7 separate regions of the Homo sapiens genome follow, and all the other regions are linked to region 1. The links are contacts of gene promoters, found by promoter capture Hi-C in blood cells and fetal thymus (Javierre and others, 2016). All regions are on one chromosome and are shown on one strand. Each heading gives the region's core, a stretch centred on a gene start or on the middle of the fragment in contact. The rest is flanking DNA. Distances are from core to core; before and after follow the strand shown.

Region 1 (3,212 bases), core at 462-2,961:
GGCCTCCCGAGTAGCTGGGACTACAGGCACACGCCACCACGCCCAGCTAATTTTTGTATTTTTAGTAGAGACAGGGTTTCACCATATTGGCCAGGCTGGTCTCGAACTCCTGACCTCGGGTGATCCGCCCACCTCAGCCTCCCAAAGTGCTGGGATTACAGGCATAAGCCACAGCGCCCAGCCTCATTATCTTATTATTTGTTTAGTGGCTCTCTCTCCCGCTGGCCTTCAACTCCACAAGGGCAGTGACCCTGACTGTCAGGGACATAAACCAGCAGTCCATGGGCATGCATATTTTTGTTTGGCTTGCAGTGTTGTATCAAAAATTCAATTTATTCCTGTAATCCCAGCACTTTGGAAGGCCGAGGCAGGCAGATCACCTGAGGTCAGGAGTTCAAGACCAGCCTGGCCAACATGGTGAAAACCCATCTCTACTAAAAATATTTTTAAAAAACTAGCCGGGCGTGGTGGTGGATGCCTGTAACCCCAACTACTCGGGAGGCTGAGGCAGAAGAATTGCTTGAACCCAGGAGACGGAGGTTACAGTGAGCCGACACAGTGCCACTGCACTCCAGCCTCGGCGACAAAGTGAGACTCTGTCTCAAAAAAAAAATCAATTTATTGGCAATATTTAAAAATCAAGAGATTTTATGTAAACACCTGGATTTCCTGGCACTCTTGAAAAAGATCTAGCACAATGGGCTGGAGGTGAGCGGCCACTGCAGCCCGTAGTTCTTACTCCAGCCCCCAGTCCACCCCATTACATCACACTTGGCTGTTTGCACTCCTTGATCCTACTTACCTGCCTATCCCCGGAGGCCTTTGAGTCTAAAATTCCTGGTCTCTTTTCACCACTCTACTTACCCCTACAACTGAGTGTTGAAATAAATAAACTGAAAGCAAGAAAGGTTGACTGTTTTGAAGGAAATATTTCATCTAAACTCTAGGAAGGCTCTACTCCACACAAGCTGTGCCACATGAAGGACGCCCTCTGGTGCCAGAATTATTCTCGGGGGGGCCCAGAACCAGTTACTATACCTTGAACTCATGCCAATGAGCTGGGCACACTTTTTCCTTAGATGGATTAATCTAATCTAAATGAAAATTTTAGATCGGATTAACCCACTTTAGAATAAATCTAAATGGCAATCTAAATTATGCGGTTACCGTTTTGATTATATTATTGTATGTTGATTAATCAAAGTGCCGCCCTAAATCCCGCTGTGACTCCGTGGGTAGTAGGGTGGGTAGGTAGGTGGGTTTGACACAACGGGGATTTCTCGTGTTTGGGAGGCTCATCATCTAAATCCTCTCTAAGGAGTGTTCATTTACCATATGAAACTCCCCTTTTCGAGAAGACAGGGATGCAACAGGGTCAAGAAGGTGGAACGTACCAAAGGACACAGTGCGTAGGCGCGCTCGAAACCTGGGCCGGTATTCTCGGCACCCAGACACCGTCCACTCGCACTGCGCAGGCTCCGAGACAGATCAAGCTTTCCCTCCCCCTCCCAGCTCTCCTAGAGTCAAGAGGACGCCCTCCTGCCGCAGACTTCCTGCGCAAGCGCCATCCCATGTCCCCGCCTCCAAACCAATTGGAAGCGGCGCCGCCTGGGCGCTTGGGGCACGACGCTGTGGGTGGGGTCAGGACGTGAGGGCAGCGCGCTGGCGTCAGAGGCGCGGCTATATAACTAAACACAGGCACCGCCCCTCTGCCCCAGTCACTGAGCCGCCGCCGAGGATTCAGCAGCCTCCCCCTTGAGCCCCCTCGCTTCCCGACGTTCCGTTCCCCCCTGCCCGCCTTCTCCCGCCACCGCCGCCGCCGCCTTCCGCAGGCCGTTTCCACCGAGGAAAAGGAATCGTATCGTATGTCCGCTATCCAGAACCTCCACTCTTTCGGTAAGCTATGGGAAAGGTCGCGGGCCCGGGTGGGGCAGCGGGGCCTTCCGGGCCCGGAGACGTGTTCCGGGAAGTTGCCAAGCGCTCCGGGCCTTCGTAAGCTCGGGCAGGGGAAACTTGACCAGGGTCGCAGGGCAGCGGGATCAAGGCCTGGGCCCCGGGGTCGGACCCTGAGCGCGACCGGAAGGAGCAGGCGGTAGGTCAGCCCTTGGGCGGGCCCGGCGTCTCAGTGGCGCATTTACTAATGGCTCCTGGGCCTCCTCGGGCCACACCCGCCCCTCCCGTCACCATTGCGTCACGTCCGTTACGTCACCACCCGTTGTCACGGATCCGGAGGGAAAGGCGGTGCCAGCCCTAAGTGGCAAGCGGGTGCACCAATGGGGGTGGGAGGCTTAGCCCCGCCTCGGGAGCTCGGGTTCCGGCGGGTTGCATCAGCTGGGTGGGGCACCGCCTGGCAGCCCGGACTCCCCCGACATGTGATCGGCTTCCCAGGGAGGGCGGGAGGCCCGGGCGTTCCCCGAGCCTGGGGAAGCTGGCCGTCCCGGACTGACCTGCTCGGGGAGAGCCAGCAAAGGACACATTCGGCCTGGCCCAAGCCCTGACGATTTCAGTGTTGTTTTCTGCACGCGCAAAACACCTGGGGACCGAGGGGATGGCAGTGGCATCCTATCTTTGACAGCTCTGAACGAGCTTAACCTTTTTTTTCAGACCCCTTTGCTGATGCAAGTAAGGGTGATGACCTGCTTCCTGCTGGCACTGAGGATTATATCCATATAAGAATTCAACAGAGAAACGGCAGGAAGACCCTTACTACTGTCCAAGGGATCGCTGATGATTACGATAAAAAGAAACTAGTGAAGGCGTTTAAGAAAGTAGGTCTTCAGTGAGATTTTGGGAAAGTCATAATGGATTTGTCCACAAGGGGGTGCCAGCTGTGTTGTATGTATTGTTAGCGGAAGGGGTGATAAATGCGTTCATGCTCTTGCTAGGCCTAATTCGTTTTCCTTTGTGCTTGCAGAAGTTTGCCTGCAATGGTACTGTAATTGAGCATCCGGAATATGGAGAAGTAATTCAGCTACAGGGTGACCAACGCAAGAACATATGCCAGTTCCTCGTAGAGGTGAGTTCAGTCACTACTTGATTTGTGCCTCTCTGCTGGCAAATCTCAGATCCTGTCTGTTAGCTTCTGCTGGGGACATAAAAGTTGGCTTTGTAAGGCTGAGCAAAACCTCAGTTGGGTTTTAAAGTACATAGACTTATTTCTGTTTTATAGGAAAAAGCAGAAGGGACTTGTCTACCTTTGGTTTACTGTTTCT
Region 2 (3,212 bases), core at 470-2,969, 1.4 Mb before region 1:
GCACTGTGGGAGGCTGAGGTGGGTGGATCATGAAGTCAGGAGTTTGAGACCAACCTGGCCAACATGGTGAAACCCCTCTACTAAAAATTCAAATATTAGCCAGGCGTGGTGACGCGTGCCTGTAGTCCCGGCTACTCAGGAGGCTGAGGCAGGAGAATGGCTTGAACCCAGGTGGTGGAGATTGCAGTGAGCCGAGATCATGGCACGGCACTCAAGCCTGGGTGATAAAATGAGACTTGTCTCAAAAATAAAAAAAAAAAAAGCTTCCATTGTGTGGTAACTTTCTCCATTCATGGCAGCCCATTCTCTTCACTTTTGTAGTTTTCAGCTGCTAAAAAGCCTTCACGAAATGTACTCCACCATCTCTTCCTGTTTAGAACCTGAATCTGTCTAATCATCCCCCTATGATAAAGTGGTCAAGAGTTTGATTTTCTGTCAGAGTTCAGAGTTCAAATTCTAGCTCTTCCACTTACTAGTTGTGTGACCTTGGGCAAGTTTACTCAACTCCCCTCTACTGTAGTTCCCTCATTTGTAAAGTGAAATAACACCAGGTTCATGGGGGTGCTTGTGAAGATTAATAAGGTGATGTAGGTAAAATACTGAGCACAGCCCCTGGCATACACTTAAGCACTCAATATTGGCTCTCTTCATGAACTAGGTACCAATTCACTGATGATCGTAATATTGTTGCTTCCCTCTTTCTAGGCTTTATGGCTCTATTTTGTTTGTTACTGAGGGGTAAAAGATAAATGTTTACCATCACCTAGAATTGGGTTCTGGCCTCTAAAGGAACCTGAGGCTTAGATGAATTATTGGCTTTGGAAGCTGGCCTTCAAATTACTGCGCTAATTTATATTTTTCATTAAAAACTCAGCTTGCCTCTTCTATATAGCTGTCTTCCCTGGCCCTGAAACCCTAGTGTTTCGCCATAAAAGATTTTAAAATTAAGGGGTCATAATTCCCTCCCCATGATGTGTGGATTAATGGTAAGAAGATGCACAGAACATAATATTCTTAGGTTGAACGAAATAAAAGTAAAGAGTTGGCTCTGTTTCTCACCTTTGAAGCACAAATCAAGAGATACTATGATGAAGCATAGTTTTTCTTTATATAGGTGTGTAGAACTTTACCATAAAAATCACTAGTTCAGCCATCAGGAGATCTGGATCCTAGGCTCTTCACTGTCACCAAGATGCTGTGACCTCTAACCTTGTATAGAAGTTTGCTTTGTACTTTGCGAGGTTGAGCATTAGAGAGGTAAGGAAAGTGCCTAGCATCATACCTGGCGCACAGAACCCAAAACGGTAGGTATCATGTAGCAGTTCTGAAAATCTAGCCCATCAGGATGATGCAAATGGGTACTTTAGGCAGTGAGAAGGGGAACCACATCTTGACACTTCCAGTCGAAGGAAGAGTGCGACTGCGCGGCAGCAAAGACTACGCCTCCCAGCGTGCTTTGCGGCGGGCCGGCCCGCTTTACCCAGAGTCGCCCTGCCGCAATCGCGCGTCTTTCCACCGAGGCCCCGGATGTAGATTCCCTCCCCCGTTCAGTGGTCGTGGCCTCACAGCGACTCTAAGACTTGGGGCTCTCTCATTGGCTGTAACTCTTCCACTGGATTGGTAGCAAAAAAAGAGGCGGTGCCCAAGGCGAAAGGCTCTGTGACTACAGCCAATCAGAATCGAGGCCGGGCTTTGGCGGGAGGTGGGAACGCTGTGGCCATTCGGATTTGGCGCGAGCGCGGCTGGAGTTTGCTGCTGCCGCTGTGCAGTTTGTTCAGGGGCTTGTGGTGGTGAGTCCGAGAGGCTGCGTGTGAGAGACGTGAGAAGGATCCTGCACTGAGGAGGTGGAAAGAAGAGGATTGCTCGAGGAGGCCTGGGGTCTGTGAGGCAGCGGAGCTGGGTGAAGGCTGCGGGTTCCGGCGAGGCCTGAGGTGAAGTGAAGGGAAAAGAGCTGAGCTCGCTGGAGGTCTGAGGTCGGGATCAGGGAAAGGGCAGGTGCCCTCGGGGTAGTTCTAGCAGTTATGCGTGGTGTGAAGGAGGTGAAAGTTGTAGGAAGGAAATATTCTGGGGTGCGTTGAGAGCTGCCTAGAATGAGGACTGAGTGCAGGGGCGGAAAGAACTGAGGGAAGACTGAGCTGCAGTGTGAGGGCTTGGGATAGAAGAGACTAAATGTGGCGGGTGCTGGGCTGAACTGGTGATAAAGACACCCCGCGTGCCTGGAGGGAGGAAACTAGAAGTTCTATATAAATCAATTCATGTAACTTTTTTTTTTTTTTGAGACGGAGTCTCGCTCTTGTCGCCCAGGCTGTAGTGCAGTGGTGCGATCTCGGCTCACTGCAACCTCTGCCTGCCGGGTTCAAGCCATTCTCCTGCCTCAGCCTCTTCATGTAGCTGGGACTACAGGCGCCCGCCACCACGTCCGGCTAATTTTTTTTTTTTTTTTGAGACGGAGTCTCGCTCGGTCTCCCAGGCTGGAGTGCAGTGGCGCGATCTCGGCTCACTGCAAGCTCCGCCTCCCGGGTTCATGCCATTCTCCTGCCTCAGCCTCCCGAGTAGCTGGGACTACAGGCGCCCACCACCACGCCCGGCTAATTTTTTGCATTTTTAGTAGAGACGGGGTTTCACCGTGTTAGCCAGGATGGTCTCGGCCCGTCTCGGCCTCCCAAAGTGTTGGGATTACAGGCGTGAGCCACCGCGTTTGGCCGTAATTTTTGTATTTTTAGTAGAGACGGGGTTTCTCCATGTTGGTCAGGCTGGTCTCGAACTCCTGACCTCAGGTGATCCGCCCGCCTCAGCCTCCCAAAGTGCTGGGATTACAGGCGTGGGCCACCGCGCCCGGCCCATTTCAGGTAACTTGTTATTGCATCGCTCAATTGGTTAAGAACTTGGGCTCTGGCACCAGATGCCCGGGGTTACATTCCTGTTTTTCTGTGACTTTGGGCCACTGTTTATCTCAGTTTTCTCATGTGTAAAATAAAGGCTAATAATAGTACCTACTCCTAAGATCGTTGTTAAACGAGTTGGTACCTAAAGTGTTTATAACAGCGCCCTTCCACGTAGTAGGTAGACAACAAATGTCAGCTGTTCTTGCATAGATTTGGATGTGAAGCAAAAGTGAATGCTAAAATAAGTGTGATAACATAATTAGGAAATAAGTGTTAATCATCAGTATAAATAAATTCCATGTTAGTTATTTTCTCTTCACTTTCACA
Region 3 (3,212 bases), core at 413-2,912, 1.3 Mb after region 1:
CTTTTTTCTTTTTTTTTTTTTTGAGCCAGAGTCTCGCTCTGTCACCCAGCTGGAGTGCAGTGGCACGATCTCGGCTCACTGCAAGCTCCGCCTCCCGGGTTCAAGCGATTCCCCCGTCTCAGCCTCCCGAGTAGCTGGGACTACAGGCGCATGCCACCACGCCCGGCTAATTTTTGTATTTTTAGTAGAGACAGGGTTTCCCCATGTTGGTCAGGCTGGTCTCAAACTCCTGACCTCAAGTGATTCACCGCCTCAGCCTCCCAAAGTGCTGGGATTACAGGCGTGAGCCACTGCACCCAGCCTTTTTTTTTTTTTTTTTTTTTTTTTTAAGAGACAAGATTCACTGTGTTGCCCAGGCTGGCCTCGAACTCCTGGGCTCAAGCAGTCCTCCTGCCTCAACCTGCTGGAACTATAGGCACATGTTACCAGTGGGCCCAGCTGCTGGGATTGGCACTTTTTTTTTTTTTTTAGTCAGAATCTCACTCTGTTGCCCAGGCTGGAGTGCAGTGGTGTGATCCGGCCCGGCTAATTTTTTGTATTTTAGTAGGGACAGGGTTTCACCATGGTGGCCAGGATGGTCTCGTGATCCACCCGCCTGGACCTCCCAAAGTGCTGGGATTACAAGGCATGAGCCACTGCGCCTGGCAGTTTTGTGAACTTGAACTGTGGACTTTATCTGTCCTGATTGTGTTTCTCATTCATTCAGCAATTATTATTTTTTGAGATGGAGTTTCGCTCTTGTCACTCAGGCTGGAGTGCAACAGCGCGATCTTGGCTCAATGCAACCTCTGCCTCCCAGGTTCCAGCTATTCTCCTGCCTCGGCCTCCCAAGTAGCTGGGATTACAGGAATACACCACCACACCCGGATAATTTTTGTATTTTTTTAGTAAAGACGGGGTTTCACCACGTTGGCCAGGCTGGTGTCTAACTTGGGATCTCAGGTGATCTGCCCACCTGGGCCTCCCAAAGTGCTGGGATTACAGGTGTGAGCCACCGCACCCGGCAGTTTTGTGAACTTGAACTATGGGCGTTATCTGTCCTGACTGTGTTTCTCATTCATTCAGCAATTATTGTTTTATTTATTTTTTGAGATGGAGTTTCACTCTTGTCACCCAGGCTGGAGTGCAATGGCACCATCTCAGCTCAATGCAACCTCTGCCTCCGGGTTCCAGCTATTCTCCTGCCTCGGCCTCCCAAGTAGCTGGGATTACAGGAATGCACCTCCACGCCCGGCTAATTTTTGTATTTTTTTAGTAAAGGTGGGGTTTCACCATGTTGGCCAGGCTGGTCTCTAACTCCTGACCTCAGGTGATCTGCCCGCCTGGGCCTCCCAGAATGCTGGGATTACAGGTGTGAGCCGCCGCACCCAGCTCATTCAGCAATTATTTTATCAATGTTCAATGTGCCCAGCATTATTCTAGGCTCTAGGGAAATAATCCATTGACAAAGCAGGGTCTACCAATGGGCTTGTCGGAGATTGCTGGGAATGGTTGATGGGGGCCAGTTTGCAGTTGGGGTGAGGTGGCTTTCCTTGAGGCAGCCTGGCTGAGTGAAGTCGACTTTGCTGACCAAGAAGGCTCCTCCCAGGGGTGGGGAAGCCTCGGCAGGGGGCGGCATGTGAGCGCCAGAAGGCAGGGATTTCACGGAAATGAAAGTGGAAGCAAACAGCCTGCGAGCAGAGCCTCCTGAGGTGTATTTCGGGTCTTGCTGGGGCTGAGAGAGACCACAGCCCTTTGGGGGGTACAAACAAGAGTTCAGTTGCTGTGAATTCTGCCACTGTGCCCAGCTCTGAAGCCTCAGCTCTTGCCAAACAGACCCGAGACCCATGTCAGCCCCACTGGATGCCGTAAGTGAGGAGGAGGGAGTTGGGAAGTGGGGAAACAGGAGTAATCCTCTTGGCTAGGAACCTGCAGATATCTCAGGGCCTGGCAGCCAAGCCTCACCCTGCCCATCTCAGACCTGCTGAAGGGCTGGGGAGAAACACAGGGCTGGGGTTGCCTCTGCAAGAGTTGGTTCCCTAACCTATTGCCTCAGACAGGAGGAGCTCATTAAATCCTGTGTGTGTACACTTCTCTGGAGAGAGAATCTGTAGTTTCCATCAGATACTCAGCGGGTTCTGTGACCCAAATAACAATTGTTCTAGGCCGGGCGTGGTGTCTCACGCCTGTCATCCTAGCACTTTGGGAGGCCTTGGCAATACAGTGAAAATCCGTCTCTACTAAAATACAAAAAATTAGCTGTGTGTGGTGGTGTGCGCCTGTAATCCCAGCTACTTGGGAGGCTGAGACAGGAGAATCACTTGAACCTGGGAGGCGGAGGTTGCAGTGAGCCGAGATTGCATCACTGCACTCCAGCCTGGGTGACACAGCGAGACTCTGTCTAAAAAAAAAAAAAAAAAAATTAAACTAAAGGAATTAGGCTGGGTGTGTTGGCTCACACCTGTAATCCCAGCCAGCACTTTGGGAGGCTGAGGCGTGTGGATCACTTGAGGTTAGGAGTTCGAGACCAGCCTGGCCAACATAGCAAAACCCCATCTCTACTAAAAACACAAAAATTAGCCAGGCATGGTGGCACACACCTGTAATCCCAGCTACTAGGGAGACTGAGGCGGGAGAATTGCTTGAACCTGGGAGGCAGAGGTTGCAGTGAGCCGAGATTGTACCACTATGCTCCACTCTGGGCAACAGAGGGAGACTGTCTCTCACACACACACACACACAAAATTTATATATATATATATATATATATATACTATAAGAATTATACTTTAAGAATCACACTAGGTAATCCATAGATTAACACGGTAAAAACTTATCCCACTGCTTAGCACCTACAGAGCATTCAATATGTGTTTCTTCTTAATATTATTATTGCCAACCTTTTCAGAACCCCAGTTCCCCAAGGACAATCCCTTTTTTTTTTTTTTTTTTGAGACGGAGTCTCACTCTGTCTCCTAGGCTGGAGTACAGTGGCATGATCTCGGCTCACTGCAACCTCTGCCTCCCGGGTTCAAGCGATTCTCCTGCCTCAGCCTCCCAAGTAACTGGGAGTACAGGCACGTTCCACCATGCCTGGCTAATTTTTTGTATTTTTAGTAGAAATGGAGTTTCACCGTGTTAGCCGGGATGGTCTTGATCTTCTGACCTCGTGATCTGCCCCCCTCAAGCTCCCAAAGTGCTGGGATTACAGGTGTAAGCCACCATGCCCGGAC
Region 4 (3,212 bases), core at 415-2,914, 1.3 Mb before region 1:
CTCAACCTCCTGGGCTCCAGGAAACCAGCTCACCTTTATCAACTGATTGAAATGACAGGAGCCCTGGCTACAGCAGGTTTGGTAGAAATGATACTTTTTGTTTTTACTTTTATCTTTTTTAAATTTTTATTTGGAATGATACTTCTTATGAAAGATTTGACCAGATCTTTATATTAAAGGATTTACTCACCTAGAATCTCATCAAAGATTTTGTACAAACCAGGAACAAAAGTGACTTCCCTATAGTTAATGCCAACATCTTCATCGTAAACCCACATTTGCTAGAAATAAGGCAAAGAAATACTGTTATTTTTATTCTATATTCATTGTTCTGTTATCATGATTACCATAAAGTGTTCATATTAAGTATTACCATATTTAGGCCAGTTCCAGTGACACTCAGTACATGAGAGATACAGAAAGGTCACACTCAGTACATGAAAGGTACAGAAAGAAGAGTATCCATTTCAACTACTAGGTTAACTGCCTTTGATGAGCTTGATTTTACCTGGGTCACTAATTCCACAGAACCAATGTAGGTGTCTGGGCGGAGCAAAATATGTTCCAATTGTGTTTTCTTTTGATAGATTCTTTCAACAGACAGTCTTTTCTTAGCATCTTCATTTTTCTTTATTTTGTTGACTTGCATATTTTCATTTACAGGCTAGCAATTAAAAAAAAAGAGAGAAAGAAGGGAATTTTTAATCATAAGTTTACCCTAAACTAGGAACAAAATGCCTACCATAGTGAGATGTCAACATGCATTGCAATCTGTTAGTAGGCAGTGGTGGAGTTGCCAGTTTTGTACAAATAGGACAATTTAAATTCGCTGCGGCCAGGTCCCCAGGTGTCAGGTTAAACAGACACATATTATCTCACCAAGTGGGTCTGTCTGGAAACCTCTTTTCTTGAGCAACATGGTAGATGTCATCAATAAAATACACCCACTTCTTTCAGTTCCTGCATACATTATTTACCGAGTGCCTATTATTATAAATTATTTACGGTGTCCCGAGCACACGACACCGTAAATAATTCTAGTTCGGCAGCAGCAGTTTGGGCGGCTATCCGTTCAATCCCTTGGCCACCTGAGCGTTGTGAACTCAGGAAGGGGGCGCTTTTGTAAGCTGGCCAGCTGCTCCAGAGAAACACTGTGCTAGGCTCTGCCCTTTCCAAGATCGGGGACATTCAAGACCGTTTTCAAGCAGCGGGCAGGAGGGGAAAGCATCTGTACGCGCGACTCAATAACGTCGCACCCGGGCCGCTGTAACATGGATCCACTACGGGACCAACGGACTCCTGCCCCTAGAAACAGGGCAACAACGCACGACACCCTGGAAGCCGGGTCATACTTCACTACTAGCACCAGAAGGGGCTTCCGCCTCTCCACGATCACCCCGGAACCGGGAATGGAGAATATGGGCTCCCAAGCCGGTCGCCGGCCTGACCGCAGCCCCAGAGCTTCACCCGTCACGGGCGGCCAGAGAGATGCCCGGGCCGCGCGGAGGCTCCACCGCCAGTCCCCCCCGCGAGCCGTACCTGCAATGGTGACACTTCCATGGTGACGGTCGTGAAGGGGCTCAAGAACCCTGAAAGCGACTAAACAGGCAGGACCCCACGAGACCACCCCCGACCAAGCCGCTTCTCCACAGACGCGCGTCGGTTAGGAGAGCTCCACTTGAACCTTCCTTTAGCCCGCCCGAAGCAGACCAGCCAATCCCTGACTCGCTCTCACCGTCTCCGTCCAGAAGAACCAATCGTAGCTTGCCTTTTATATCCACCTATGAACGGCTGAGTTGGCCGGGGTTTGTTTGAATAAACCAATCAGGTTAGGGAGGCGGGACTAGAGAGGCTTCAAAAGGCACCACTCGGCGTCATAGCGGAGAGATTGACAGGGAATCTGGCCAATGAGAAGGGCTCACTTGTTTTCTCGTGCGGAAAGCTTGGAAGAGATGGGCTTTGGAAGCGGGAAGGGGTGGCCTGAGGCAAAAGTGTGCAGGAGAAAAGCAAAGGATGTTTATTCTCCAGGAACTGCCAATCTATTTAAGATCCCTGAAATCTAAAAACTGTCCTCTGTTCTGACGTTGTTAGCGAGGGGAATGGGAGCCTTAGCTTCGTTTTCCTGAGGAAACTGAGTGCCGGCTTTCTGGACAGGCAGCCTGGCTGCTTGGTTGAAGCGAACAGATTCTGGCATCTGCCTCAACCCCGCCCCCTTTACCCTCGAATTCATTTTTCAAAGAAATAAAAGTAGGCTGTGTGCGGTGGCTGGAGTCTGTATTCGCAGCACATTGGGAGGCCGAGGCGGGAGGATCGCTGGAGCCTAGGAGTTGGAGACCAGCCTGGGCAACATAGCGAGACCCCGTCTCTACCCAAAAAGGAAAAAAAATAGCCAGGCGAGGCATCGCACACCTGTAACTCCAGCTCCGGAGGCTGAGGAGGGAGGATCGCTTGAGCCCCGGGGATCGGAGATCGAGGCGCCTTGAACCGTGATTGCTCCACTGCACTCCAGCCTGAGTGACAGAGCGAGGCCACCTCAAGAGATAAATACATAAATAAATAAATAATAAAAATAATTAAAATAAAAGTGCCACAGTTGTGGTTTGGGGGTTCCATATAGTGGAAGGATGTAGAAAGGCTTTGCAAAATGGAGGGCAGCATTCAGGTCCCCAGTAGAGCAGCGCTGGACTGCAACTGGTAAATCGAAAGGGATAACTTGTGGTGGTAGCCTCTTGAGCTGAGGGTGGGCTCAGCCGTCCGGGGCTGAAACCTTTTCCGCAGCCAGCTGGCCAGATACCCTCCGACTGGCTACTTTTGCTCACCTCCGTGAACCCTGCAGTCCAGAACAGCTGTTCCAATTTGACAAGGAAATGCCAAGACTGAAGCTTTTTTGTTTGCTTGTTTTTTTGTTGCTTTTTTTTTTTTTGAGATGGAATCTCACTCTGTCGCCCAGGCTGGAGTGCAATGGCGCGATCTAGGCTCACTGCAACCTTCACCTCGCGGGTTCAAGCGATTCTCCTGCCTCAGCCTCCCGTGTAGCTAGAATTACAGGCGCCTGCCACCACGCCTGGCTAATTTTTGTATTTTTTTAGTAGAGACAGGGTTTTGCCATGTTGACCAGGTTGGTTTCAAACTTCTGACCTCAAGTGATCTGCCCGCCTCAGCCTCTCAAAGTGCTGGGATTACAGGTGTGAGTCACTGTGCCCGGCGAAGAC
Region 5 (3,212 bases), core at 244-2,743, 1.2 Mb before region 1:
AAACCCTCCACTTCCTCAATCCTCTGCAGCTTGTCAGCCGAGGAGAGCAGGATGCAGGGAAAACAGGAAGGAGGTGGACTCCAGGGGTCTGGGCCTCGGGCCTCTCTGCCCTTCCTGCCCCTGGGTAGGGAGAGATGGGTCAGCAGAAAACATTCTAGGAGAAATGCCAGCCTGGCACCCAGCATATCTGGGAAGGGGGGTCCTGGGGGAGAAAGTCGCTAATCTTGGGGCAGAGATGCCAGTGGCAATGGTAGAGGAGGGGTACTGAGACTGGGAGGGAGCAAGGGCCGAGCCCTTGGGTTCGCGGGGTACAACAGAGTCACGTTCCCTTTGAATCTCCATCCTCCACCAGCCAGAGGGTATCTGGCACCAGATAAGGATGGCTGGTAGCCTCCTCCTCTCTCAGCACTTTGAATGCAAGACAGAAGAGCCCTCAAAGGGCTGGGTAGGAATACCTCATCCTCTGGTTGGGTAGGAATACTCCATCCTGTAGTGGAGGAAAATAAGATCCCCTAGGGGTTTGGGGAGGGCATGGCATGAGAATTTTGTGGTTGTCCTCTGGATATAATGCAAACTGGCCTCCAGGAATATCTAGGGGCTGGGTGTGGAGGTTCATGCTTGTAATCCCAGCACTTTGGGAGGATTGCTTGAGGCCAGGAGTTCGAGACCAGCCTGAGCAATATAGCCAGACCCCCGTCTCTACAAAAAAAAAAAAAAAAAAATAGGCAACTGCAGTGGCTCATGCCTGTAGTCCCAGGTATTTGGGAGTCTGAGATGAGAAGTTCAAGGTTACAATGAGCTATGATCACGTGATTGCACTCCAGCCTGGGCGACTCTATTTCGTAAAAAAAAAAAAAAAAAAAAGTAGGCCGGGTGCAGTGGCTCACACCTGTAATCTCAGTATTTTGGGAGGCTGAGGAGGGTGAATCACCTGAGGTCAGGAGTTTGAGACCAGCCTGGTCAACATGGTGAAACCTCGTCTCTACTAAAAATACAAAAATTAGCTGGGCATGGTGGTGCGTGCCTGTAGTCCCAGCTACTTGGGAGGCTGAGGCAGGAGAATCACTTGAACCCGGGAGGTGGAGGTTGCAGTGAACCAAGATTGTGCCACTGCGCTTTAGCCTGGGTGACAGAGCGAGACTCTGTCTAAAGAAAACAAAACAAATAAACAAAAAAAACAAAAAACGGTGTCTTGGAATGGGGTGGCTTTAGGTCCCCTTTGGATGACACAGCCAAGGTCTGTAATGCCCCTCCCCCTTTCCTCCTTGCCTTGTCCTCCAGCCTCCAGCCATGCAATGGATGCAGGTATCTGGAGAGAGACGAGGGAAGCCTGGAGGTACCTACTGAGCAAGCTATGCCCGTGCCCTCCCACACCTCCTAGTCATCATAGAAGTAATCCCTTGCTGTGACCTGGGCCACATGGCACCATGTAAAAGGCACTCTCTAGAGTTCTGCTGCAGCCCTGCAGGGTCTGTGGGTGAGATAAGACGACCAAGCCCCTACCCACCCATCTTTTTAGCCTTACACAGTCAGTAGGCCACTGTCTGCTTTAGGTCCCAAGGTTTGGGCCCACTGGCCCGCGAATAGCTTGGTCGAGGGTACCTGTCTATTTTTTCTGCCTTTTCCTTTTGGGGCTGAGTGTCAGCAGGTGGCTGGGGGAGGGTGGCCACTTGGCATGCCCCCTTCTTTGGCTGCTATGGTCCAGCTGCCTCCTGTTTGCCCCAGGGGCAGATCTCCCCTTTCCGTCTCCAGCCACCCCTGCCTGCCCTCCTGTCACAGCTTTCCATGTGCTGGCCAGGTTGTGGCTTAACACCACTGAGGCCACCAGAGATGAGGCGGGGCGTGTGCATCAAAAGTCCACACCTCTGCATCCTGGTACTGATCCTAGACTCATGGAATCTGGGGGAGTGGACAGCGGAAAGATCAGCGTTTGGACGGGGAGTTCCTAAGCTGGGCTCTCAGTCCCTTTGGGACAGGGTTAGGGAACAGGCAGGCTGGGTTAATTTTTAGTCAATGCAGCAAATTCTGCCCCCCTACTTCAGTACTGGGAATCCAGTTATGTCATGGGAACAAGGGCATTCCCAGAAATTCTGTGCCTTGTGGGGAGGGGGAGGGAGGAGCATGGCCGCTTCCCATTTTTAATTTAGTACTGGCAAAGCTAGCAGTATTGGTGCCTCGGGTATCAGGAGTCTTTCCACTTAAAGACAGAGTGCTGCAGAGCTAAGTCTCTCCTCCTCCCCTTCCACCCAGTCTACTTCATTTTCCTAATTTTTAAAGTGGGGAGGGCAACAGGACCTGCCTCACAGGGTTGGGGCGTCTGGCATCGGGTAAGAGCTCAATAAATTGAAGTGATGAGGAAGATGGTGATGAAGAAGCTGATGCTGGGACTTAGGGAAGCGGTAGGACGAGGGAGCAAATTTGGGGCAACATTCAGAGGAGTTGAGAGGGGTGGGGTGGCCTTTGGTGCATTTTGCTGCTGTCAACATGGGAAGAACAGGCCAAGTTGCCTTATCTGTTTTTTATTCTGAGGCTGGCAGCATGACACAGCTGTTGGGGGTGATACCCCTTGAGCCAGACCTCAGAGAAAGGGCCTGGTACCCAGCACCAGCGGTCTTGGCTTCTCCAGCTAGAGTCTAGGGGAAGAGGGAAAAGACCTTTCTAGCAGGACAGGTGGGTGACCCTCTGGATCACAGCTGAAACTTCTGGTCGGGATGGCTGGGCCCACTCAGTTCATAGCCTAGGTGTCTCTCGAGGGCCAGGGGCTGGCGTTGGGGAGAAATTGTGAGGGTAAAATCAGGCAACAGGAAAGAGGAAATCCTCTGGCTTTCGCCACAAACTTTGCAGCCGGTGGTGCCAAAGCCGTGTGGCCTCTTCTCTGGCGCCTTCCCTTCCTCTGCTGCTGGAGCAAAGACCGAGGTTTCCCCTATAGTCAGATGTCAACTGGCTTAGCTCCAAGCTGGGCGCTGTAGGAGGACCAAGCCTACTTGGAAGTCCCATCTCCCAAACAAGCTTTTTGGAGGTCAGACTTTTCAGGGGAATAGGTCTGACTCCACTCCTGCTCAGAGGGGAACCCACAGGCATTGGAATTTCTCCAGAGGGCACTACCAGGATGAGTAGCACCAGGTGGCTGGAACTCTTGTGTGAGCAGGGAAATAGCAAGTATTTAGCCAGTTTTGGAGATGAGAAGGTTAACGTTATCAAGAGACTCAATG
Region 6 (3,212 bases), core at 257-2,756, 1.1 Mb before region 1:
CGGACGCTGTCCCACTCCTGCTGTTCCCGTCAGGGGAGGGGAGTTGGGGGAGTGCTGGCGTGTGTGCCTGTGATTTCTCATTCCAGGTGTTTTGGAGGAGGTGGATGAGCAAGGGTCTTGTAGGTCCAAAACAGGTGGCTTTCAAGAAACATCACAGGGAAACTTAGGGGAACTCTTGTATGTGGCAAAAGGGAGCCTGGTCAGTGGCCTTGAGTCAGATCATCCCTGTCTGTTACAAAGTCATAAAGAAACTGGTCTTGGGCAGCAGCTTCAGTGAGACCAATGAAGTTGGGAATCTCTGGGGCTAAGGAGTGGTTGACCTAGATGTTGGGTGTTTTCTGAGTTCTTGAGTTTTCAGTAATGATCATCATGAAAATTCCCTAGAACTCCAACCGGAGCCCCCAACATGAGAGACTGCCCATCCAGGAAAGAAAATTATTGGCTGGCTGCCCCCATCTCCAAACCATGAACTTCCATCCCCACATTTTTCCAGGTCCTCCAGACTGCCCAGGAAATCACAGTTGCCCAATCAGCTCGCCCCAAGAGCGACCCCAAGCTTTTTCCTCTTTGAACTTCCTCACCTGCCAACACAACTTTTCTCTCTCTCTCTTTTTTTTTGGATAAGGGAGGCAGAGGAGAAGCAGGGAGGTGGTGAGAGGTCTAGAGATCTGGGGAATCCACTTTCAGACAGTAGGCAGGGATGGGTGAGAGCCTGGTAGACCTTGCATTTTCTATGTTATCAACTGCTGTATCCAATGAGATAATTCATATTCACTGAGCTCTCACTGCGTGCCACACTGTCTGCATGTATGGTCTCATTTCATCCTCTCAAAAGCCCCATGAGGTAGGCGCTACTATTATCCCCATTTACCAATGAGAAACTGAAACACAGCAAGTAACTTTCTCAGAGTCACACAATGGCCAGCAGGGGAGCAGGCTTTGAAACCCTCCAACTCCAGCAACCACACTCCTAACCATCCTTCTGTGCGGCCACTGGGTCTGTATGTGTCTCTCCCTCATAACATCTCATGAGCTACCCTGGTGATCCTCATCTTAGATTCCAGAAAATAGAGGCCCAGAGAGATTAAGCCAAATGCCTGGGGCCACACAGCTGCTAAGAGAGGGACCTGAGATTTGAACAGGATAGCAAGGTTTGGGCTCTGGCTACTGCATCAGGCTGTGTTTCTGATGAGCCTGCTGCATCTAGGACGCTCCACGGAGCATGAGGGGAATCTTTGCTCCCCATGCCCCACTGGCCACCAGTGCTTCCTGCTTCCATCCCCCAACATCCCGGCCCCCAAAAGAGCCGGCCCCACCTCTGTTCTGACACGGGCTTTGCTGCCTCTTTGCTGCCACAGAACTCCTTCCAAAACACAAATCTCATCCTTTAATTCACCTACTTGAAAAATAAAAATCTTTGATGGGTCCCCATTGTTTTCAGGATAAAGTTCAAATTCCTTAGGGATGCCGTACCACGTTTTAAGGATTGGGTCTCCTGTGCCTGCGTCCTTCCTCCTCATCTTCCTCCTTGGCATGGCCAGCTACTCCACCCTCCCCTCCGCTTGCTTCTTTCTTGTCTCTGTTACTGTTGTCTCAGCTGACCATCTACACGGCTGCAGCCTTAGTCCCCAGGACACTCTGCTTGTCAGCATGGAGTTTTTGAAATAATAGATTTGAATGCCTTTAGGTGGGGCATGCACCCTCTGGGTCACTCTACTCCCCTCCACTTCCTGCACCTTATGCCCATTCCCTCTATTACCTTGTCGGCCTCTGATGGCAATGGAGTTTGCCATTCCTGCCACATCCTGGGCCCATTGCAGCTCCTTGTTGGGCTTGACAACTCCTACACACCCTTGAAAACCCACCTTAAATACCTCTCTGACCCAGGTTCACTATTCCCTTCTTGTCTTGCCCTTGCCCTGGTCAATGCTGTATCTTATTCTGTTGCAGTGGCTTTGTGACATATGTGTCACTCTCCCCACCAGACTGGTCATCCCTGAATCCCTCAAACAATGAGAGTTGCCTGAATGTCCGAAGCAAAGAGGAGAGATTTTTTCCAACAGCGACCCCAGGCTGCAGCGTTCCTCTCCTCCCCAGCCAAGTTTCTGGCAGGCAAGAAACTGGCCCTGAATTAGCTTCAGCATCCCCCTTTGCCACCATTTATGTCCGAGCTGTGAGGCACACATCTCTCATGGGTTCATTTTTTCCTTGCTTTGCTTTTGAGAATTATGAAAGATCTTCGGTCTCATTGCTCGAAGGTGGGGAGGGTGCCTCAGAGCTGCTCATTCAAACCGTGAAAAAGGCCAGCTCAGCCCTGCTTGGGAGTTTTCATTTTGTGTAACAGAAACCCTCCCTCCTCACCCACCTCTTGCTCCTTGCTGGGCAGATGAAGAGCAGAACAACAGATCCTCCAAGGCCCACCCACCCCATCAACGGCCCAGAGAGCCCGTTTTGAGTAAAGCTTGTCAGCGGCTTCCCCTCCTACCAGTATTTCGGGTTTGACCGTTGGGGCTCTCTCAAGTTGAGTGAAGTGGCAAGAATATCCCTTCTTCCTGGACCAGAGATTACCCTCTCTCCCTGCATCAAAGCCTAGGAGTCTAGCACCCCTAAACCTAGTCTGGGGTAAGACACTCTGCACATCTTCCCAACCCCCTGTTCAGTCATGTAGATGGCTTGAAATCAATCAGCCAGGGTGGGAGAATTTACACCATGGAAATTGGCAAGCACTACAAATTCAGGACTTTCCCTCCACCCTGGAGTCAGCTACCAGTGCTCCACCCCGGGGAGCTGCTTTTCAAATGCCCAGTAGCACACCACTGGGCACTGCTTGGTTTCCTTCCTGGAGGCCAGTATGAAAGGCTGGAGCAGGGTCTTCTGTGGGTGACGTCTGTACTGTGGGATTGTGATGGGGGGTGGTGGAGGGGGTGCAGGGGAGTGGGATTTAAGGGTAGATTGGCTGGGAAATGAGGCATTTGGAAGAGATTTTCAAAAACTAAACTCTACGGAGTTCTTGATACGGTGTATTCATTCATTCCGCAGACATTTTCTCCTCACATCCTCAAAGCACCTGAACCTGCCTTTCAGGAGTTCACAGTCAGTGGGTGGGGTGACCACTTTAACCCTTTCACAGCTGTTTGCTGGGTCCAGATCCAGCGTTCAGGGCAGGCGGGAAAGTAAGAGATGAAATCAAGGAGGCTGTGGTGTGGCGAGGA
Region 7 (3,212 bases), core at 713-3,212, 1.1 Mb before region 1:
TCTAATTGACTTCAAGTTGTGTAAGAGGGAGGCTGAAATTATAGGAAGACAGATTTTTAGTTCAGTGAGAGGAAATACCTTTAGTGAACTAAAGAAGGAATGAGCTATCTTAAGACATGATGGGCTCCCCAAGACTAGAAGTATTTATTTAAACAGAACCATGACGACCTTAGGGGACCTGGGACCAAGTGCTAGACGGGTGTGGAGGTGGCTGACCGAGGGTCCTTGCTGCCCCTTAAAGTCAAGGAGTTTAAGGCAGCCTTTCCTTTCTTTCAAGTGGCTCCTCAAAGGGAGCCATTATCTGCAGCTACTGTCTCAGTTTTATGTAAAGAGTATTTATCATTTGGGAATTTCCCCTCCCCATATAATACTTTTGACTCCTGAATGCATGCAAAAGAGCTGTAAGAAACTTTCTGGTGCTAAATGAGAAAATGTGTGAACATAAATGAGCTAGTTTAACTAAAAGTTCACCAAAATGTATTTTAAACATCAGGCTCTTAAAAACTCAATAGTTTGAAATTTGCATTTTAATCAGCGTTTGGCTAACAATATGAGATAAACTATTAGAGAAGTGTAGGTCATTCTGGCAAATAGAAAGTTCCATCATTTCACACTTAGAAAGCTGCCACGAAGAGCTTATTCTTGGAGTATAAAATGCAGAATTTAGGTTAAGCCAGTCATTTTGTAGATGAAATTGTACACTGGCAATTTCTTATGGTTCAACCTAATAGTAAAACATTTATAAACAATTGTATCATTACAAATACATTTAGACATCGTTTTCTGCTAAACTCAGTATTTTCCTTTCCATCCTGATCAAAGAAACATTATTGCAGTAAGCCACATTATAATTCAGCACGATTTCTTCTAAAAAGGCTCCGAGTTCCTTTGAGCTTGTTATTGTACAGTGGATTTTTCATTTGCAAAGACGTTAAGCCCTCCAAATGTGCAAATCATGAAGTCAGTTGTTGTTCCAGCAAGGTTTGCCCAGCGGTAAAAAACAAGATAAAACTAATGCACTAGCTGAAACCAGGTGGGGAGACCATGTGTGGTAGTGCTTGGGGGTGGAGGGAAACTATTTCTGAAATGAGGACTTAAAGTATAATACCAGCTTCACTGCCTGTTCACGAGAAACCAAAGCTTCAATTTAACTGCAGGCAATAGGAGTTTCACACTGTCAGCACCAACTGTCTAAAATCCAAAACTAGTATCTAAATGTGTAGGATCAAAACCAAAAATCTGGAGGGATCTAGTTAAACTTCAATATGCATGACCCCAGATTCCCCTTTAAAATATAGTCCAAGTATTTTATCTTTTCCATAGGGCATTGACATTATTGTGTTAATGTGAAATAGCTATTTACCTCTCCAAACCTCGGCTTTATAGAATAGATAATTATCACATCCTGTAGGAGAGCCATTTGAAAAGACAGCCTTGTTTACAGACAGGAGAAGTTACAGAATTTAAAACTGTTAGAAAATTGGGGGACTATGGGGCTGGGCGCGGTGGCTCACGCCTGTAATCCCAGCACTTTGGGAGGCAGAGGAGGGTGGATCAGGAGGTCAAGAGTTCGAGACCAGGCTGGCAAACATGGCAAAATCCTGTCTCTACTAAAAATACAAAAATTAGCCGGGCGTGGTGGCGGGCGCCTGTAATCCCAGCTACTCAGGAGGCTGAGGCAGGAGAATTGCTGAAACCCAGGAGCTGGATGTTGCAGTGAGCCGAGATGGCGCCATTACACTCCAGCCTGGGCAACAGTCAGACTGTCTCAAAAAAAAAGGAAAATTGGGTGACTATCGAGGATTCCCCTCTCCCATTTGTTAAAAAAAATTAACAAAATTTAGGCCCTCAGACTTTATGCATTCATACTCAAAATAAATGCACTAAAAATCAAGGAGCAGTAAGGGCACCAAGAAAGAGCAGTTTGATCTATTTTATAATTAAAACAGGCTCGAGTTCAAGCTACTTGCCCAGCACCTTTTGGGACATGGGAAAAAAACAAAGACCTCTACCATATCCCACATTCTCTAAACTGAGAACCATCTCAAACATCAAGTCTACATATATCACTCTGACCAAGTGGATTTTTACATCAATCTTCCCCTGCTGAGGTTCAGAGCTGTCAAATCCCAACTGAGGCCGGGCACAGTGGCTCACGCCTGTAATCCCAGCACTTTGGGAGACTGAGGCAGGCGGATCACCTGAGGTCACGAGTTCAAGATCAGCCTGGCTAACATGGTGAAACCCCATCTCTACTAAAAAATACAAAAATTAACCGGGCATGGTGGCGAGAGCCTGTAATCCCAGCTGCTCTAGAGGCTGAGGCAGAGAGAATTGCTTGAACCTGGGAGGTGGAGGTTGCAGTGAGCTGAGATCGCCACCACTGCACTCCAACCTGGGCGACAGATTGAGACGTCTCCCATCTGACTTAATTCCCTCATCAACTGATTGCCAGTGTTGTATGGACAGGCTTGGTCTGGATAGACTTGTCTTCCCACTGCTATTTCCAGCCGGGCAAAAGAACCACTTCCATTCTCTTAGAGCTTTCGATACCACAGTAAATAACCTGGTATCTTGCTGGGGCAGTTTTCCACCCATATTAAACTACATCTGCCCCATTTTGACTACTAGAAAATGTATCAAAGAGGCTGTCCAATTTGTCTGAGATGAGATGGCTGAAGTTCTTAGCCAAATAATGGCCAAAGCTCAAAACAGATCTATTTGATACAAATTCGTTCTTTGACACACAAGGAAACAGATGTCAAGAGTTGTTTCCACCCAGTATCAAGCTTCCTCCCCTCCTCTCTCAGGAGGCTGAACACACATTCCTAGTCACTAATGTGCTATGAACTGAATAGCAGTGAATCCACTTAAATTAACTCATGCTGGTACAGAGTCCTCTCCATATAGGCACAGGACTTAACATTTATCATTTAGCCATTCTTTCAAAGATAATTCAAACGTTACAGATTTCTCCATATTCCTGTTAATGTAGAAACATATTCCCTTTACTTTTGGAATCAAAGACCAACTTCCATATGTGACAATGACTATAATGTAAGAAAACTGATTTTCACAAGTGTCTTGTACAAATAAGCTACTGCAGCAGTTTATAGAGATAGTTGGGTGAGACAAGGGCCCTGAGTACACAAATTTATAATGGCTGAGTGGTCATTCCACACTGTCACTGCATTACAGAAAAAAACTGGATG

The links. The method cuts DNA at HindIII sites, captures the fragments that hold promoters and counts their contacts. A CHiCAGO score of 5 or more calls a contact.
Region 2: the fragment with the promoter of CDC6 here is called in contact with the fragment with the promoter of EIF1 in region 1 in 4 of 17 cell types (naive B cells, activated CD4 T cells, total CD8 T cells and 1 more); the score reaches 8.2 in naive B cells.
Region 3: the fragment with the promoter of IFI35 here is called in contact with the fragment with the promoter of EIF1 in region 1 in 1 of 17 cell types (fetal thymus); the score reaches 5.5 in fetal thymus.
Region 4: the fragment with the promoter of TOP2A here is called in contact with the fragment with the promoter of EIF1 in region 1 in 10 of 17 cell types (fetal thymus, erythroblasts, total B cells and 7 more); the score reaches 11.6 in fetal thymus.
Region 5: a contact is called between a fragment that was not itself captured here and the fragment with the promoter of EIF1 in region 1, in 1 of 17 cell types (endothelial precursors). The highest score is 5.3, in endothelial precursors.
Region 6: a fragment that was not itself captured here is called in contact with the fragment with the promoter of EIF1 in region 1 in 1 of 17 cell types (naive CD8 T cells); the score reaches 5.4 in naive CD8 T cells.
Region 7: a contact is called between a fragment that was not itself captured here and the fragment with the promoter of EIF1 in region 1, in 1 of 17 cell types (naive CD8 T cells). The highest score is 5.7, in naive CD8 T cells.

The regions. Positions count from the first base shown.
Region 1 is chr17:41,687,174-41,690,385 of GRCh38, forward strand. It overlaps EIF1 (eukaryotic translation initiation factor 1), which reads left to right and starts at 1,712. Exons shown (of 4, transcript NM_005801.4): 1 at 1,712-1,896; 2 at 2,605-2,768; 3 at 2,915-3,016. The coding sequence starts at 1,866. RefSeq lists enhancers at 1,413-2,321, 2,307-2,396, 2,322-3,212 and a silencer at 1,537-1,926. The HindIII fragment of the contact is 2,180 bases long and covers 1,492-3,212 here.
Region 2 is chr17:40,286,160-40,289,371 of GRCh38, forward strand. CDC6 (cell division cycle 6) reads left to right here and starts at 1,720. Exons shown (of 12, transcript NM_001254.4): 1 at 1,720-1,931. RefSeq lists enhancers at 1,480-2,287, 2,056-2,235, 2,266-2,335. The HindIII fragment of the contact is 8,752 bases long and covers 262-3,212 here.
Region 3 is chr17:43,005,122-43,008,333 of GRCh38, forward strand. It overlaps IFI35 (interferon induced protein 35), which reads left to right and starts at 1,663. Exons shown (of 7, transcript NM_001330230.2): 1 at 1,663-1,847. The coding sequence starts at 1,827. RefSeq lists an enhancer at 1,523-1,832. The HindIII fragment of the contact is 11,688 bases long and covers 1-3,212 here.
Region 4 is chr17:40,416,232-40,419,443 of GRCh38, forward strand. It overlaps TOP2A (DNA topoisomerase II alpha), which reads right to left and starts at 1,665. Exons shown (of 35, transcript NM_001067.4): 1 at 1,540-1,665; 2 at 509-664; 3 at 191-281. The coding sequence starts at 1,560. RefSeq lists enhancers at 1,324-1,849, 1,571-1,660. The HindIII fragment of the contact is 7,280 bases long and covers 1-1,940 here.
Region 5 is chr17:40,445,467-40,448,678 of GRCh38, forward strand. The region is part of intron 1 of IGFBP4 (insulin like growth factor binding protein 4); the gene reads left to right. Among named protein-coding and RNA genes, the nearest start is that of IGFBP4, 3.6 kb to the left of the region's middle. The HindIII fragment of the contact is 3,027 bases long and covers 1-3,007 here.
Region 6 is chr17:40,561,189-40,564,400 of GRCh38, forward strand. The region is part of intron 1 of CCR7 (C-C motif chemokine receptor 7); the gene reads right to left. Among named protein-coding and RNA genes, the nearest start is that of CCR7, 2.7 kb to the right of the region's middle. RefSeq lists enhancers at 23-112, 133-212, 2,923-3,212. The HindIII fragment of the contact is 1,905 bases long and covers 555-2,459 here.
Region 7 is chr17:40,624,453-40,627,664 of GRCh38, forward strand. SMARCE1 (SWI/SNF related BAF chromatin remodeling complex subunit E1) reads right to left here. Exons shown (of 11, transcript NM_003079.5): 11 at 510-3,212. Among named protein-coding and RNA genes, the nearest start is that of SMARCE1, 22 kb to the right of the region's middle. The HindIII fragment of the contact is 1,649 bases long and covers 1,139-2,787 here.